Regions from separate parts of the Homo sapiens genome. Here regions 2, 3, 4 and 5 are each linked to region 1. The links are contacts of gene promoters, found by promoter capture Hi-C in blood cells and fetal thymus (Javierre and others, 2016). All regions are on one chromosome and are shown on one strand. The core of a region is centred on a gene start or on the middle of the fragment in contact, and the rest is flanking DNA. Distances in the headings are between cores, read along the strand shown.

Region 1 (2,681 bases), core at 127-2,626:
GAATGTCTAACTCCCTCCATGAAGTTGCCTACGCAAAGCTCTCTTTCAATTCCTGAACCTCTTTTGGTCAGTCTGTGACCCCCTTGTAGCCAGTGGAGTTGCTCTTTTAGGGTTGTCTGTCCAGCTAGACTTTTAGCTCCCTGAGGACAGGAGCTGTTCCTTTGTTCCCTCCCACAGCAGCCAGCCTGATACCGTCCTCATGGATCTTGTCAATGGATCACCAACAATAATTGCTGAAGAAGCAATAGTATGATTCCTACTTTTGCATTCGATACTGACTTTTCTGAGTAGGTTTTAGCATCTGGCATGCTTTTCCTTGGTTTGCAGCTCGACAGTCGTGCTGTGATTCCCTTCTCCCAGCAGTTCAGGTTATTAGCCATTACTTTGTTTCCGCTTTGGTCATTTTCTTTGATTTCCTCAGCCGCACATTACCTGTGTTAAGATTTCCGCTCATTGCTTCAAACTTAAGGAGTTGAAGAGGGGCTCAGGAGGGCCCAGTTAAGGTAGCCCTTCAAGGCTCCGAGCCCCATCCTGCCCAGCCAGGAGCTGCTGGACCATCAGCCAGTCAGGATGCTTTCTGGGCGTCAGCAGCCTCATCAATAAATTAAGGATATAAGTAGGACCTGCCTCAAAAGGTTAGAAGATTAAAAGTACAGTGGCTAGAATGTATCACACCCTCAATCTCTACAAACCCTCCTCTGACTGGGGCGGGTGGGGTGACCCGTGGGCAGCTGAGCGAGGGGAAACTTTCCCGGGCTTTCCAGCTCTTTAGCAGGCAGCAGGCAGGGCCCAGAGCGCCGGGCGTGCAGGCTGCAGCGGCTTTGCTTCCCCACGTTCCTCCCATGGGAGGACTGGCTGGCTTCAGTAACCCCTGGTGCTGTGGGAGCGAGAGCCAGACCTCACTGCCCCACCGCAGAAGACAAGCAAAGCCATCCTCGCTGACCCTACCGGCAGCATGCACTTCAAAATTAATAAAGGCTGCTCCAAAGTCTCTCCTCTTCAAAGCACCCAGGGCTGCCTCCCTCCCCAGTAATCAAGCCGGTTCTCCACACTCCCCGCTCCGACTTTATTGATTTGCCTGAAAGGAACCCAGTGCCCTCCCCAGATTATACCCCTGGAGGTATTGCAGGCATCGGATCCTCCACCGCTCAGTCAGGCCCCGACGGGGGTCTCCGCCAGGCTTGGCCCCTCCCCCAAGGTCACCCAACTTTTCCCTCTGTCCCCGCGCCCGGCCCGGGGCGAGAGGGGGTGGCGAGGTGGGGGCCGGGTGGGGCGCCACGGGGCCGGCGCTGGCCCCCTCCCCCGCGGGGCGGGCCCCGCCATGCATTATTCATTGGCCAGAGCCGGGCTGCGGGCGCGAGTGCTGATGTCAGGCAGGCGCGAGTGCGGCGGGCGCAGCGGCGGCGGCCGCCCAGCAGCCCGGGCTCGGGTGGGGGGGCGCCGAGTGGGGGTGGCGGCCAGCATGCTGCTCGGCTGCGGCTCGGCCTCCCACACCCGCGGCTCCCTAGTCCTCGCCAGCAGCGGCGGCGGCAGAGCAGCGAGCGGCGCCCGCGTCTGCAGCGGCGCCGGGTCCGAGCGCGCGGCGCGGCGGTGGGGGTCGGGGCCCGGGCGGGGAGCGGGGACCGGGCATGGCGCTGCGGAGAGGCGGCTGCGGAGCGCTCGGGCTGCTGCTGCTGCTGCTGGGCGCCGCGTGCCTGATACCGCGGAGCGCGCAGGTGAGGCGGCTGGCGCGCTGCCCCGCCACTTGCAGCTGTACCAAGGAGTCTATCATCTGCGTGGGCTCTTCCTGGGTGCCCAGGATCGTGCCGGGCGACATCAGCTCCCTGTGAGTGGGACCCCTCCAGCCCCCATCCCGTCCCGCCCCACCCTGCGTCCGCCGCCGCGAGGGAGTTGCCTCTGGCGCCGGGCCAGCGCGACCCTGACCCACTCCCCAGGCCCCTTCTTTGCCTTTGTGTGGGGGACGTGGGTGGAGTGTTGGCCCCCGGGGAGGACGGTGAGGACCTGAGCCCCAGAATCTGGGAACCCAGACAGGTTCCTGTGGCAGCGTTTCTCAGAGTGTGGCCCACGGGCCACCTGCATCAGACTCACCTGGGGAAGCTTGTGCCAATGCAGAATCCAGCTGCTCTGAAGCAGTCTTTGGAGTGGAGTCCTGGAGTGTGCGTTTGACGTCCCCGGGAGACTCAAGGGTGCATTAAAGTTTGAGAGGGCGTGTGCGTGTGTGTGTGTGTGTTTGCGGGTTGGAGTTGTGTGTGTAGGGGCGTGCATAGGAGCAGCTGAACACGACCTGACTGAGTGCAAACTGGGCAGGGTGAGGCCTCACTGCCCCACATCAGGTCTGGGGCGAATGTTCACCCCGTGGCCTCCTCCCGACTTCTCCACATTGCAGGTTGCAAAAAGTCGAGGTCAAGGCATGCAGGCTCTGGGAGGGGAGGGGCCGCCCCCCGTGGCCTAGAAGAGGGGTAACAGAAGGCTGGGCAGAGGTTTGGGGCATGTTGGGCGCCTAGCCCAGTGGCCAAGTGCTTTGAAGTCAGCCTTCTTGCCCTGAGGTCAGGAGGGCTTCTTGCCCCCTTTCTCCATCACACAGTTGTGTTGGCTGCTTTTTCAGCAGGAGGAACTGACAGGAAAGGGCTTCACATTAGGTATCCACCTGCCGAGAGGTGCTTTCATCCTGCCCTCACCTG
Region 2 (2,681 bases), core at 85-2,584, 570 kb after region 1:
CTACAGGCGTGTGCCACTACACTCAGCTACTTTTTGTATTTTTTTGTGGAGATGGGGTTTCGCCATGTTCCCCAGGCTGCTCTTAAACTCCTGAGGTCAAGAAATCCACCTGCCTCAGCCTCCAAAAGTGCTGGGATTACAGATGTGAGCCACTATGCCCAGCCCAATATTTTCTTTGTGCATTTGAAAACCCCAAAATAACCCTTTTTAACAACCATACATATTAGTCAAGAGGTCATTCTTACAACTCTGATGACCTTCCTTCATCTTTAGTTTTTGCAAATTCTTTTGGCTGCTAGAACCAAATGTTGGTCAAGGGATCCAAGCAAATAGTTTACATCAAGAGTTTAACTCCAGTTATCAGAGCCTTTTTTTCTTTCCTTCCAGGGTATAATATCTCTGCAAATACCTACTGGCCTATGTTCTGTTGAGATCTACAGAGAAAAATCTTTCTTGTTCTATTTACTGAACTACCTAACTTCAAAACAAGGAATAAACCTGGACTCTAAACAGTATCTCGGTCAGGCACGGTGGCTCACGCCTGTAATCCCAGCACTTTGGGAGGCCAAGGCGGGTGGATCACGAGGTCAAGAGATCGAGACCATCCTGGCTAACATGGTTAAACCCCATCTCTACTAAAAAATAAATAAATAAATAAATAAATAATAAATTAGCCAGGCGTGGTGTCGGGTGCCTGTAGTCCCAGCTACTCGGGAGGCTGAGGCAGGAGAATGGCGTGAACCTGGGAGCGGAGGTTGCAGTGACCCGAGTTTGCGCCACTGCACTCTAGCCTGGGGGACAGAGCAAGACTCCATCTTAAAACAAACAAACAAACAAACAAACAAACAAACAAAAAACAGTATCTTTTGTTATTCCTGAGATAATTCCAAGAGAAGAGGAATGTTGACTATATCCTATGGCATCATTATTGTTTGTCTGATTGGACCCAGGCTAGAAATCTTAAAGATATTTGTGAAAAATAAAGCTCATATTCAAGATGAAACATTAAACCCCACAGTGAAGGTCATTCTCATTCTCTCTGGCTTGCCCCTCTTTCTTTCTCACTTGACTTTCTCATAATTTTTTTCAACAACGTCTTTGGACCCCGGTTCATTAAACTCTCCCTCCCCACATCTGATTTTTCCCCAAGAAAGTGCATTCTGGAGAGGGCAGGGGGAGTGACTATTCATTTGTCTACACTTCCCAGGCTCAAAGGAGCTGTGGTCACTATTGCTTCCAAAACATTCCTTTGCCATAATCCTGCAAAACTGTATGATCCCATACCTCCCAGTGAAATTCCCATAGACCATATTCTACCCTTTTTCCTGGCTGTCTTATTGTATCCCTGTTACTTCCTCTGGTCCCATGAAGGCTCAGTCCCTTGGCTCATGTCCTCTTTGCTATCTGAACTGCCACCATCAGGGTGGTCTTCAGCATCTGCGTGTGCAGGAAATATCCAGTGACTTAGCTTCAGAGTTGCAAGACTTCATCCCCACCATACTTTGCCAGCTCAGTCACATTGCCCACACTCTGGCCTTGTCTTCTGTAATGTCTCTGCTTCCAGAACATTAAACTCCAGTGTAACCATATCTGGTTATACCCTCATAGCCTCTCTGCTTGCTCCCCTACTCTCCCTTTTTCCAAGTTCATTAACCATGCTTTTCCCCTGACTCCTTTTAGCCAGCTGAGAGATCCCATGATATATTATGTTAACCACTGTCTTGCTAAAACCTCAAAGCTCTTAATCTCTCACCCTTCTATATCTGTCCACAAAAATCCTAGTCTTGGATTGGTGCAACCAACTGTTCTGTTTGCTTCTGCATGCAAGCTATTTCCTGCTGTTGGAAAAAACCAGCCATACCAAAGAATGCCAGTATAATTTTATTATCCTCAACTTCAGCGTCATCTAGCAAATATCGTATGGAATATCAAGCTCACTCACTGTTCATATCTGCAGCTCTGAACATTTCCCACTGTCCCCAACTCCCCTGCCCACCAATGGGCTTCCTTCCAGGTAAGGATTCATGGTCACCCAATGTGAATTCCCTCAACCTCTTGTCTCATATCTGGAAATCTCTTATCTTTCCACCCCTAGCTTTTCTTCCACCTGTGCTGTGGATATCATCCCTTGCCATCCTCTCCAGGACTTCAATGCATCAGTTACAGCTTTATGACTCAATAAAATTAGGAATAAATGTACCAAAATCTCTCCCATCTTGAAAAATTCTCCCATCAATCTTTCACTTCCCTTTAGGGGTTATTTGTCTCTTTTTTTCCCTTTGTTGCATGGCATGAAAGGCCCAGCTAATGCTGGGTACTATACCTTTTAATGGCATTAATCAGCATGAGTGTGACATTGGCTGCCACCAGTAGCTCACAGATTCTTTGAGCAAAGAGGCAGATAGTGTCTAAAGCAGCCTATCTGCCAAGCTCAGCTAGATAATTATCTTAGTTCATTTTGTGTTGCTATAACAGAATACCACAGACTGGGTAATTTATAAAAAACAGAGATTTATTTCTTACAGTTCTGGAGGTTGGTAAGTCCAAGAGCATGGTGCTGATGTTTGGTGAGGGCCTTCGTGTTGCATCATTTCATGGCAGAAGGTAGAAGGGCAGGAACGCATGAGAGCAAGAGGGCAAGAGGAGGTGAGCTCCCTCTTATAATAAGCTCACTCTTGGAA
Region 3 (2,681 bases), core at 54-2,553, 550 kb after region 1:
TCTGGTTGTGTTTTTGTCACTAAGGCTGTTTGCACTGTAGTTTGCAGCTGTAGCCACGTATGGAGTTAAATAACCTGGTTGGCACGCACACGCACACGCATGCGCGCGCGCGCGCACACACACACACACACACACACACACACACACACACACAGGTTCCTTAGGGTGTGTGTGAGAAAACAAAATGATCAAATATGGTAATCTGGCATTTAATTCCACCTAGGTAAAAGAAGCATTGGAAATGAATGTTTTTCTCCTGACACATGTATATATCGGTTGCACCACCAGATAAAGTCAAGGTACCAGGCCGTAGCTCTTGCTTTTGCCAGTTTCTTATGAAATATCAGGGCTTTTTCACTAGTGTTAGAACCAAGGCAGAGACCTAGAAAGATAAATGATTTAATTCGGCCTGTCAGATTCTATTTGCTTGGAAGCAAGGATTCACGAGGAGAAAAGCACATTAATTGAGGTCTTAAGGTGGTAGTAGAACACATTTTATTTATTACTGCTTTCTGTGTAGAGGGATTTTTTTTTCTTCTTCCTTTTAACGTTTATTTGGTCTTGTTCAGTCAACTTGTATTGAGTGGGTTCTGTGCTAGGTGAGGAAAACCACAGTGAATAAGACCAGCTGGTGGGAGATGGAACAGAGGTGTGGCAGAAACCAGGAGAAGAGATGAAAGGGCTTTCCTCTGGGACTGTGACAAGAGACTTTCCTCAAAATGATGACCTCTACTCTAGAGTTTGAGAAGGTCTTAGGCAGGCAGGAAGGGTAGGAAAGCTTCTCCAGGCAGAGGGAAGAGTAGGGGCAAAGCCACACTGAGGTGGAAGAATCTGACGTCTCTGAGAGCTTAAGTGAGCTGGCCACACTGAGGCCTTGTGTGAGTTGGGAGGCCTTTGAGAAGGAGCAAAGGAAAAAGTCACTTGAGATGAGCTGGAGAGGTCCGTGGAAGAATCTGGTCACAAGGGGCCTTGTAACTCCTTAGAAAGCCCTGTGGGATTATGGAAAATTGTGTCAGACTTGGGGTTGGGGTAGGTGTCTAGATTAGAGGAACTGAAAGGGGTCATTTTTAGGATTTGGGTTTTGATCCAAAGAGCAATGAAAGCCACTGAAGCGCGCTATGATTAGATTTGCGCTTTGAAGACATTATTCTTTTTGCAGGATGAAGAATGGCTGGGTCACAATGGATGCAAAAAGACCTGTTAGGAATCTACCATAGGGTCCTGACAGAAGAGAAAGGTAGCCCAGCATAGGTGACTGAGTGGAAGTAGACAGAAGGGGAAGCATTTAAGGAGAGACATTGGATATTGATATTGAAGGGGAGGGAGGTGTCAAGATGGTTCATACAACATAGCCCAGACTTCTTCTTGATCTTCTGCCCATGGACAAACACAACTTGCCATCATCTGTCTTCAAATGGCATCCAGAACTTGGAGGTATGGACCAGGTGTGGCTTCTGTGGACATTTTATCCCCGGCATCTATAGCCTCTGATTTTTAAGCAAATGTCAGACAACCAATGTGACAGACGATTGGATCTTGGCCTTTTTATTCTTCTCTCCCCTGAACTCCTGTCACCTGCTCTGTGGCAGATATCGTAAATTAACTCATTCGGTTTCCATTGCAACATTCTCCTACTAACTCTGTGGTTCATAGAGGCCAGAGAGCCAAAAGCAACATTTCCCAGAACCTTTTGCAGGTCACCCATGTGACCAAGGTGCCTCCAGGCAAACACACCTTCTCCAGTCTTACAGGCAGAAGTGCACAATGTATGGCAACTGCTAAGTACAGGGAGATCAGATGTTCTGGCAAATGAGGTTACCAAGCTTCCTGTTCTTCCAAGACTGTGGGTGGTAGAGTTTCTGGTGTCCAGTCTATTGTCATATAGCTTTTTTTCCTGGCAGCTTTGTTCCTATTTGTAGCATCCAAACCCAATTCTCTAACCCTCCTGGAAATTATATGAGTTACCTAAGACTTTCTGCCTAAAGTATCTGAAGTGAATTCTGTTGCCTGCAAATAACAACCTGTGATATGCTCATCAGTGAACTTCATTTATTATTATATATTTTATTTGTTGTTCTACAGGTAGTGACACCTTTTTTCTGAACATAGCGTCTGCTCCTTAAAGACAAAAAAGTGGTCACGTACCCTCTATCATGTTAGCCACAGTGCAGAGAACATAGTAGGTGCAATGTGGATGACTGCCATTTTTGCCTGCTTGACATCCAATCATCATTCTCCCAAAAGTACCAGATACACAGACTGTCCTCGAATTTTCCTCTGGGAAGCTACGTCTTCTTCAGTCTGTTTATTTGCTTTGGTGTTATGGACTTCTAGAGCCAAGGATGGGCATGAGACTCAAGCCTGGCCAATCACAGAGCATTGCATCCCACTGATTACCATAATTAATGTAAAGATGGGAACATGACCCAATCAGAGCCAATGTTTTAGGATCTAAGGATTTTTGACTGGACTGTTGAGAGAGAGAGAGGGAGGGAGGGAGGGAGGGAGGGAGAGAGAGAGAGAGAGATGCACATCTATCTCATCTGTCTACTCTCTTTCTGTTAGGACCACTGATACAAAGGAAGAGGTGAGCCAGTTATGTTGGAGGCTCCATGTGGAATGGAAAATGAAGTCAACCCAAAGGCAAGCAAAGCCAAGAAATTGGGTTGTTGACACTGTTT
Region 4 (2,681 bases), core at 91-2,590, 530 kb after region 1:
TGTCTGGCCCATGCCAAATTCAACAGCATTTGTTTGAAGCAACTTGCATCTATTCAGTCATGCCAAAACATTCAACTTGGTTTTCATAGGAGCAAGAACTTCTTTTCCCATTCTTTTTTTTTTTTTTTTTCCTTTTCTGAGATAGAGTTTTGTTCTTGTCGCCCAGGCAACACTCCATGCATGTCACTCCATGCAATGGTGCAGTCGAGGCTCACTGCAACCTCCGCCTACCCAGTTCAAGCAATTCTTCTGCCTCAGCCTCCTGAATAGCTGGGATTACAGGCAATCACCACCACACCTGGCTAATTTTATATTTTTAGTAGAGACGGGGTTTCACCATGTTGGCCAGGCTAGTTTTGAACTCCTGACCTCAGGTAATCCACCTGCCTCAGCCTCCCGAAGTGATGGGATTACAGGCATGAACCACCATGCCCAGCTTCCCATTCATTTTTAAATAGGTTTTACAACATGTAATTAAACCGTAGAAGCAAATAAGTATAACTAGCATAGAAGCTCCTTGAGGACAGGACTTCTCTGTTCTTTATCACTGCAGTGTCTCCAGAGCTTAAAACAGTGTGTACACATCATAGGCGCTCAGATGTCTGTGCATGAATGAATAAACTGGCTTTGACAGGTTTGGGGAGCAAAGGGTTAATTCAATATGTGGGAATCCATGGACAAAGTCAGGTGGAGCCTGCCAGCTTCAGGTGTTTCAGGGGTCATGGGAATCATCATCATTTACAGAAGTCTACATGGTTTACAGTGAATCCAGCAGGGTAGTTAAGAGACGGTCAGTTGTGAAAGCTACTACCACATCATAAGTAAATATTTAAGGGAAGGATCCAGAAACATCTGTTTGTCTCTTTTGGGGAACAGGTGTGTCTTGGAGGGAGGGTATGGTAAGGGGGATGGCATTTGCATTTCAGCAGGTGAACATGCATCATTTGAAAAAACCTATTTAACATAATTATCATATTTTAAAAATACGATAAATGAAAAATACCTACTGCTTTCATAACACATTATAGAAAGTGAAGCTCAAGAAAATATAGTAGTGGGAACAGGCAGAAGCAGCAGCAATTCTAGACAGTAAGTCCCATGAAGGCAGCATATTATTGATGCCTGGCAAATTGTCCTGACTTAATCAATATTGTGGGAGAAAACAGATTCTCAATAAGAAGTGTACCTCTTAAGGGCAATGTAACTATGAAGGTGTAGGCTTGGAAAATGTCATTTCCCAATCAATATTTTAAAAGGCATCTTTTTAAAATATTGAAAAACCGTGTTTTAAAAACATAGCAATGTTTTTGGCTAGGCGCAGTGTCTCATGCCTATAGTCTCAGCACTTTGGGAGGCTAAGGCAGGTGGATCTCCTGAGGTCAGGGGTTCAAGACCAGCCTGGCCAACATGGCAAAAACCCATCTTTACTAAAAACACAAAAATTAGCCAGGTGTGGTGGTAGGTGCCTGTAATCTTAGCTAATTGGGAGGCTGAGGCAGGAGAATCCCTTGAACCTGGGAGGCGGAGGTTGCAGTGAGCTGAGATCGCACCACTGTACTCCAGCCTGGGCGACAAGAGGAAGACTCTGTCTCAAAATAAATAAATAAATAAAAATAAAAATAAAAACATAGCAATGGTTGTTCCAAATAAATCACAACAGGATTCTTTTTGGGTGCTTTCCCAATGTTATTTCCTCAGTGGGATTTTGTGGTCAGTTGATTCACCGGGTGAGTAAAGCTGATTTTTAGACTAACCACGGGGAATAGTTCCACGGGATGGAATTGCATTAGCATTTTGGCTCATGGAAATAGATGCGTATGGTAAGGTTCATAGAGACTGCAGCCTTTCACTGACCAAACAATTGATTGTATTTGTAGCCAATTTAAACTGGAGTATTTTCTGGAAGAGTCGGAGACTATGATGCTACACCATCCATTGCACAAACATTAGCCACAAAATGGTGGAAGTCACTTGGTCTGGCCTCCGCAAGGAGTCAGTCCTGGTCATTTCCTCCCGGCTGCCTCCGGTGGAAGGATATTCCACACACAGCTCCGTGGTATTTGTAGCACAAGCCCAAGTTTGATTATCCTAGTGGTAATTTCAAGTTCTTTGTTTCCTACCCTCCTTTTTAAACCTATTTCTTCCTAATCAGTTTCCTGAGGATATGAAACCTATTCCTTACACAAACCAGTTGAGCTCAATTTTTCCTTATCTAGGCTAAACCCCATTTTTGTGACTTTTCCAGAGATATTAAAATAAGCAATAACCACAAAACCAACAGCACCAAAACTAGCTGCATCTTTAGGACGGCACTGTGTTCTTCCTTGTTTTTCTTCTTTGCACGTGCTGTTCCCTCTGCTGCTGGGTGTGCACCCTTTAAACCTGCATCTCCCTGGGCTAATCACCGTGCCAACTCAACTCCTGCTCGTGCCTAAAGACTTACCTCAGTTAAAGAGCGATGCTCCAGACAACCGCCCTTGCTCCCCACACCAACAGAGGAAATTATTTTTATTTATTTATTTATTTTTGAGACAGAGTCTCACTCTGTCACCCAGACTTAAGTGCAGTAGGGTGATCTCGGCTCACTACAACCCCTGCCTCCCAGGTTCGAGCGATTCTGGTGCCTTAGCCTCCTGAGTAGCTGGGATTTCAAGTGCATGCCACCGCGCCCATTTAATTTT
Region 5 (2,681 bases), core at 69-2,568, 520 kb after region 1:
CCGGGCGCGGTGGCCGGCGCCTGTAGTCTCAGCTACTCGCGAGGCTGAGGCAGGAGAATGGCGTGAACCCGGGAGGCGGAGCTTGCAGTGAGCCGAGATCGTGCCACTGCACTCCAGCCTGGGCGACAGAGCGAGACTCCGTCTCAAAAAAAAAAAAAAAAAAAAAAAAAAAGTATTTATTCCCTAAGCATATTCATTATATGCATTTCTAGGTATTTTGTTGCAGGGACGCTTTCAGATTATCTGTCTTCAGAATTGCTAGATACAGAAGTTGACCACTCCCTTTTAATCTTTAAATCAAGGACAGGATTGAGGTCAATATCGCTGTGTGCTGTCTAATGAATTATTTGTACAGATTTAGAAAAGATAAATATTTATTGGTGTAGTCAGATGAGTGAAAGTTTAGTAAGCTTCTTCAGACATATTGACAGACTTAAGCCAGCTGATTTTCTGTCCTTTAGCAAATCTCACCTGCATTCTCTGGCATAATTAAGTGGGGTTGATAAACCATCTCTATTTTCTTTCCCCCGAAGCCTGACACCCAGTGGTCAGACTTTGAAACCAAAACCTCCCTGAGGGGGTTAACAAAAGTGAGGACTATTTGCTACCCTCCTGCTTCACACTTTTCATCTTCATTGTGGAATAGGTAGGTGAAATACTGAGCTGGATGGGGAGAGCCACATCTAAGCTATTCCCTTACAGGAGACTTGCCTTAAAGAAATGGGAATTTTGAGCCACTTCCTTGCTCAGTGTCCTTGTTGACTGCTGAAACTTTGTTCATTTCTTCATCTTTTAGAGAATGATGAAGTGATGTCTCAGCTCTCATCCAGGGGCAGACTCTAAAGTCAGTCCTTAAGGCAGAAATCATGATATAGTCCAAATTGAGTCTCCCTAAGAAGGTGGTGTGACAGGGAAGCATGCTTGATTACTTTGCAGGGGGAAAATGGCCTTTTTTCCCCTCCAACATTGAAAGATTACAGCTTTTGAGCTGAGAATCTTGGTTGGCCTTCATTCAGAGGCCACATACAAAAAAAGAAATATCTTTATCAAAAGCAGAATCCCACTCATAGATGACACACACATGGAGAGGTTGGAGAGGTGGATAAGGCTTGAGCACGTAGCAGATTCATACCTCGTATCTCATGCACTCCAGACACTTTCACTCACTAGTGGGCAGAGTTGCCTGAACTGTTTATATTGGGTTTTCTGTTTTGGTTGGTGCTTGCTGATGCCTTATAATTAAATGATCACATTTAATGATTAATTACCATCTTGGAATTGTGAGGATTAAGTTGGGTAATCATTGTGACAGATGCTTTGTAAACTAAGATCGCTGTGGTAGTCATTAATGCTGTTCTCCAAATATTTCTAATTTCAGGCATGTGGTAGGTTTGCACTGCCCCCTTGAAGTTACATATAGCCAGGTGAGACTTGCTTAGGTCAACAGGATTGAGCAGAAGTGATGGGGTCACATCTGGGTGGCAGCTGTACAAGCACAATGTCATTTCACCGTGCTCCCTCTCCCCCTGCTGTGGCAACGTTCCAGCATGAGGCATCATAGAGCAAAGCTCCCAACAGACCCAAGATGGAGATGAGCAAGAAATCAATTGATGTTGTAGGAGCCACTCAGATTTGGAGCTGTTTGTTACTACTGTGTAACTTAGCCTATCCTGTCTGATGGGCAACATGCACAGGTCTCATGTGGTTTTGTGCCATTTGACCTAACCCCAGTGAATGGGCAAGGAAATAAGGATAAGACCTATTAGAAGGCTGGGAGAATACAATGAGGCTTATGGTGAAGGTACAGTTGTGAATTGTATTTAAAATGAAATCTTTTTAACTCTTAGCAGAAGAAGATGGCACCAAGATCCTTTAAGGGTATGTCTGAGTCAAGCCCCATTTCCATTAACCGAACGTAAGCATGACTAGAAAAAGGTGGAGATCTGATATTTAGTGAGCCTCTTCTCTGGCATTCTGCTAGACCTACTGGCACAATGAGCTCATTTAATTCTAATGGCAACCCTAGGAAGAACCCAGGGTGTTATTCCTATTGCATTAAATATATGAAGTAAGGCTAAGAGATATTAACTGTCCCGGGTCACTTAGGCAGTAAGAAGATGAGAAGATTATAAAGCACTAAGTGCCACAAAATGGTACTTCAATATACAGTGCCAGTTTCTGCTTAAACCTACACATTTTTAGGAATACCTACTGGCAGAAGCTTAGTTCCCCAATTTAAGGATTAATTCATCTTATTATGGGTATAAGAGAGAAGGTGCAGGTCACTCCGGTGTAACTTGACCTTTCAAAAAGTCACCCTGGTGTAAACCTCAGCCTAACAAAGCTCTAACTGCCGGTGGGCCATCCTTAGCAATTTGGAAGTTAACTTACTCCTGTTTTGGTGGGAGTGCTGGCTGGACTCTGTTTTACCAGAGCTCTTTATTGCTTGATTGATTTTTCCTGATTTATGTCTTCACTAAAAACAGAAAGAAAAAAACCCAGCATTCTAAAGTGATGTGCATTATCAGAATGCTACACCTTTCAAATTCAGATTTTTTTAAAATTGCAAAGCCAAATATATTCATTTGCATTTATTATAAATTAATATAATAGCTGAGAGTTAGCAACAGTTAATTGCTTAAGAATATAATTTGCCACATATTATGAAGCCGTCTTAGTTT

What was found. The method cuts DNA at HindIII sites, captures the fragments that hold promoters and counts their contacts. A CHiCAGO score of 5 or more calls a contact.
Region 2: a contact is called between a fragment that was not itself captured here and the fragment with the promoter of LGI2 in region 1, in 1 of 17 cell types (M2 macrophages). The highest score is 5.7, in M2 macrophages.
Region 3: a contact is called between a fragment that was not itself captured here and the fragment with the promoter of LGI2 in region 1, in 3 of 17 cell types (M0 macrophages, M2 macrophages and monocytes). The highest score is 7.5, in M0 macrophages.
Region 4: a contact is called between a fragment that was not itself captured here and the fragment with the promoter of LGI2 in region 1, in 6 of 17 cell types (M2 macrophages, M1 macrophages, M0 macrophages and 3 more). The highest score is 12.5, in M2 macrophages.
Region 5: a contact is called between a fragment that was not itself captured here and the fragment with the promoter of LGI2 in region 1, in 3 of 17 cell types (M2 macrophages, M1 macrophages and monocytes). The highest score is 9.0, in M2 macrophages.

The regions. Positions count from the first base shown.
Region 1 is chr4:25,029,641-25,032,321 of GRCh38, reverse strand. It overlaps LGI2 (leucine rich repeat LGI family member 2), which reads left to right and starts at 1,376. Exons shown (of 8, transcript NM_018176.4): 1 at 1,376-1,825. The coding sequence starts at 1,629. It overlaps LOC124900684 (a long non-coding RNA gene), which reads right to left and starts at 2,214. Exons shown (of 2, transcript XR_007058083.1): 1 at 2,089-2,214. The HindIII fragment of the contact is 5,840 bases long and covers 1-2,099 here.
Region 2 is chr4:24,455,701-24,458,381 of GRCh38, reverse strand. All of the region lies in intron 1 of LOC124900678 (a long non-coding RNA gene), which reads right to left. It also overlaps a transcript of PPARGC1A not described here. Among named protein-coding and RNA genes, the nearest start is that of MIR573, 63 kb to the left of the region's middle. The HindIII fragment of the contact is 6,066 bases long and covers 1-2,681 here.
Region 3 is chr4:24,479,528-24,482,208 of GRCh38, reverse strand. No RefSeq gene overlaps it. Among named protein-coding and RNA genes, the nearest start is that of MIR573, 39 kb to the left of the region's middle. The HindIII fragment of the contact is 1,045 bases long and covers 781-1,825 here.
Region 4 is chr4:24,496,484-24,499,164 of GRCh38, reverse strand. No RefSeq gene overlaps it. Among named protein-coding and RNA genes, the nearest start is that of MIR573, 22 kb to the left of the region's middle. The HindIII fragment of the contact is 3,560 bases long and covers 1-2,681 here.
Region 5 is chr4:24,512,880-24,515,560 of GRCh38, reverse strand. No RefSeq gene overlaps it. Among named protein-coding and RNA genes, the nearest start is that of MIR573, 6.1 kb to the left of the region's middle. The HindIII fragment of the contact is 1,811 bases long and covers 413-2,223 here.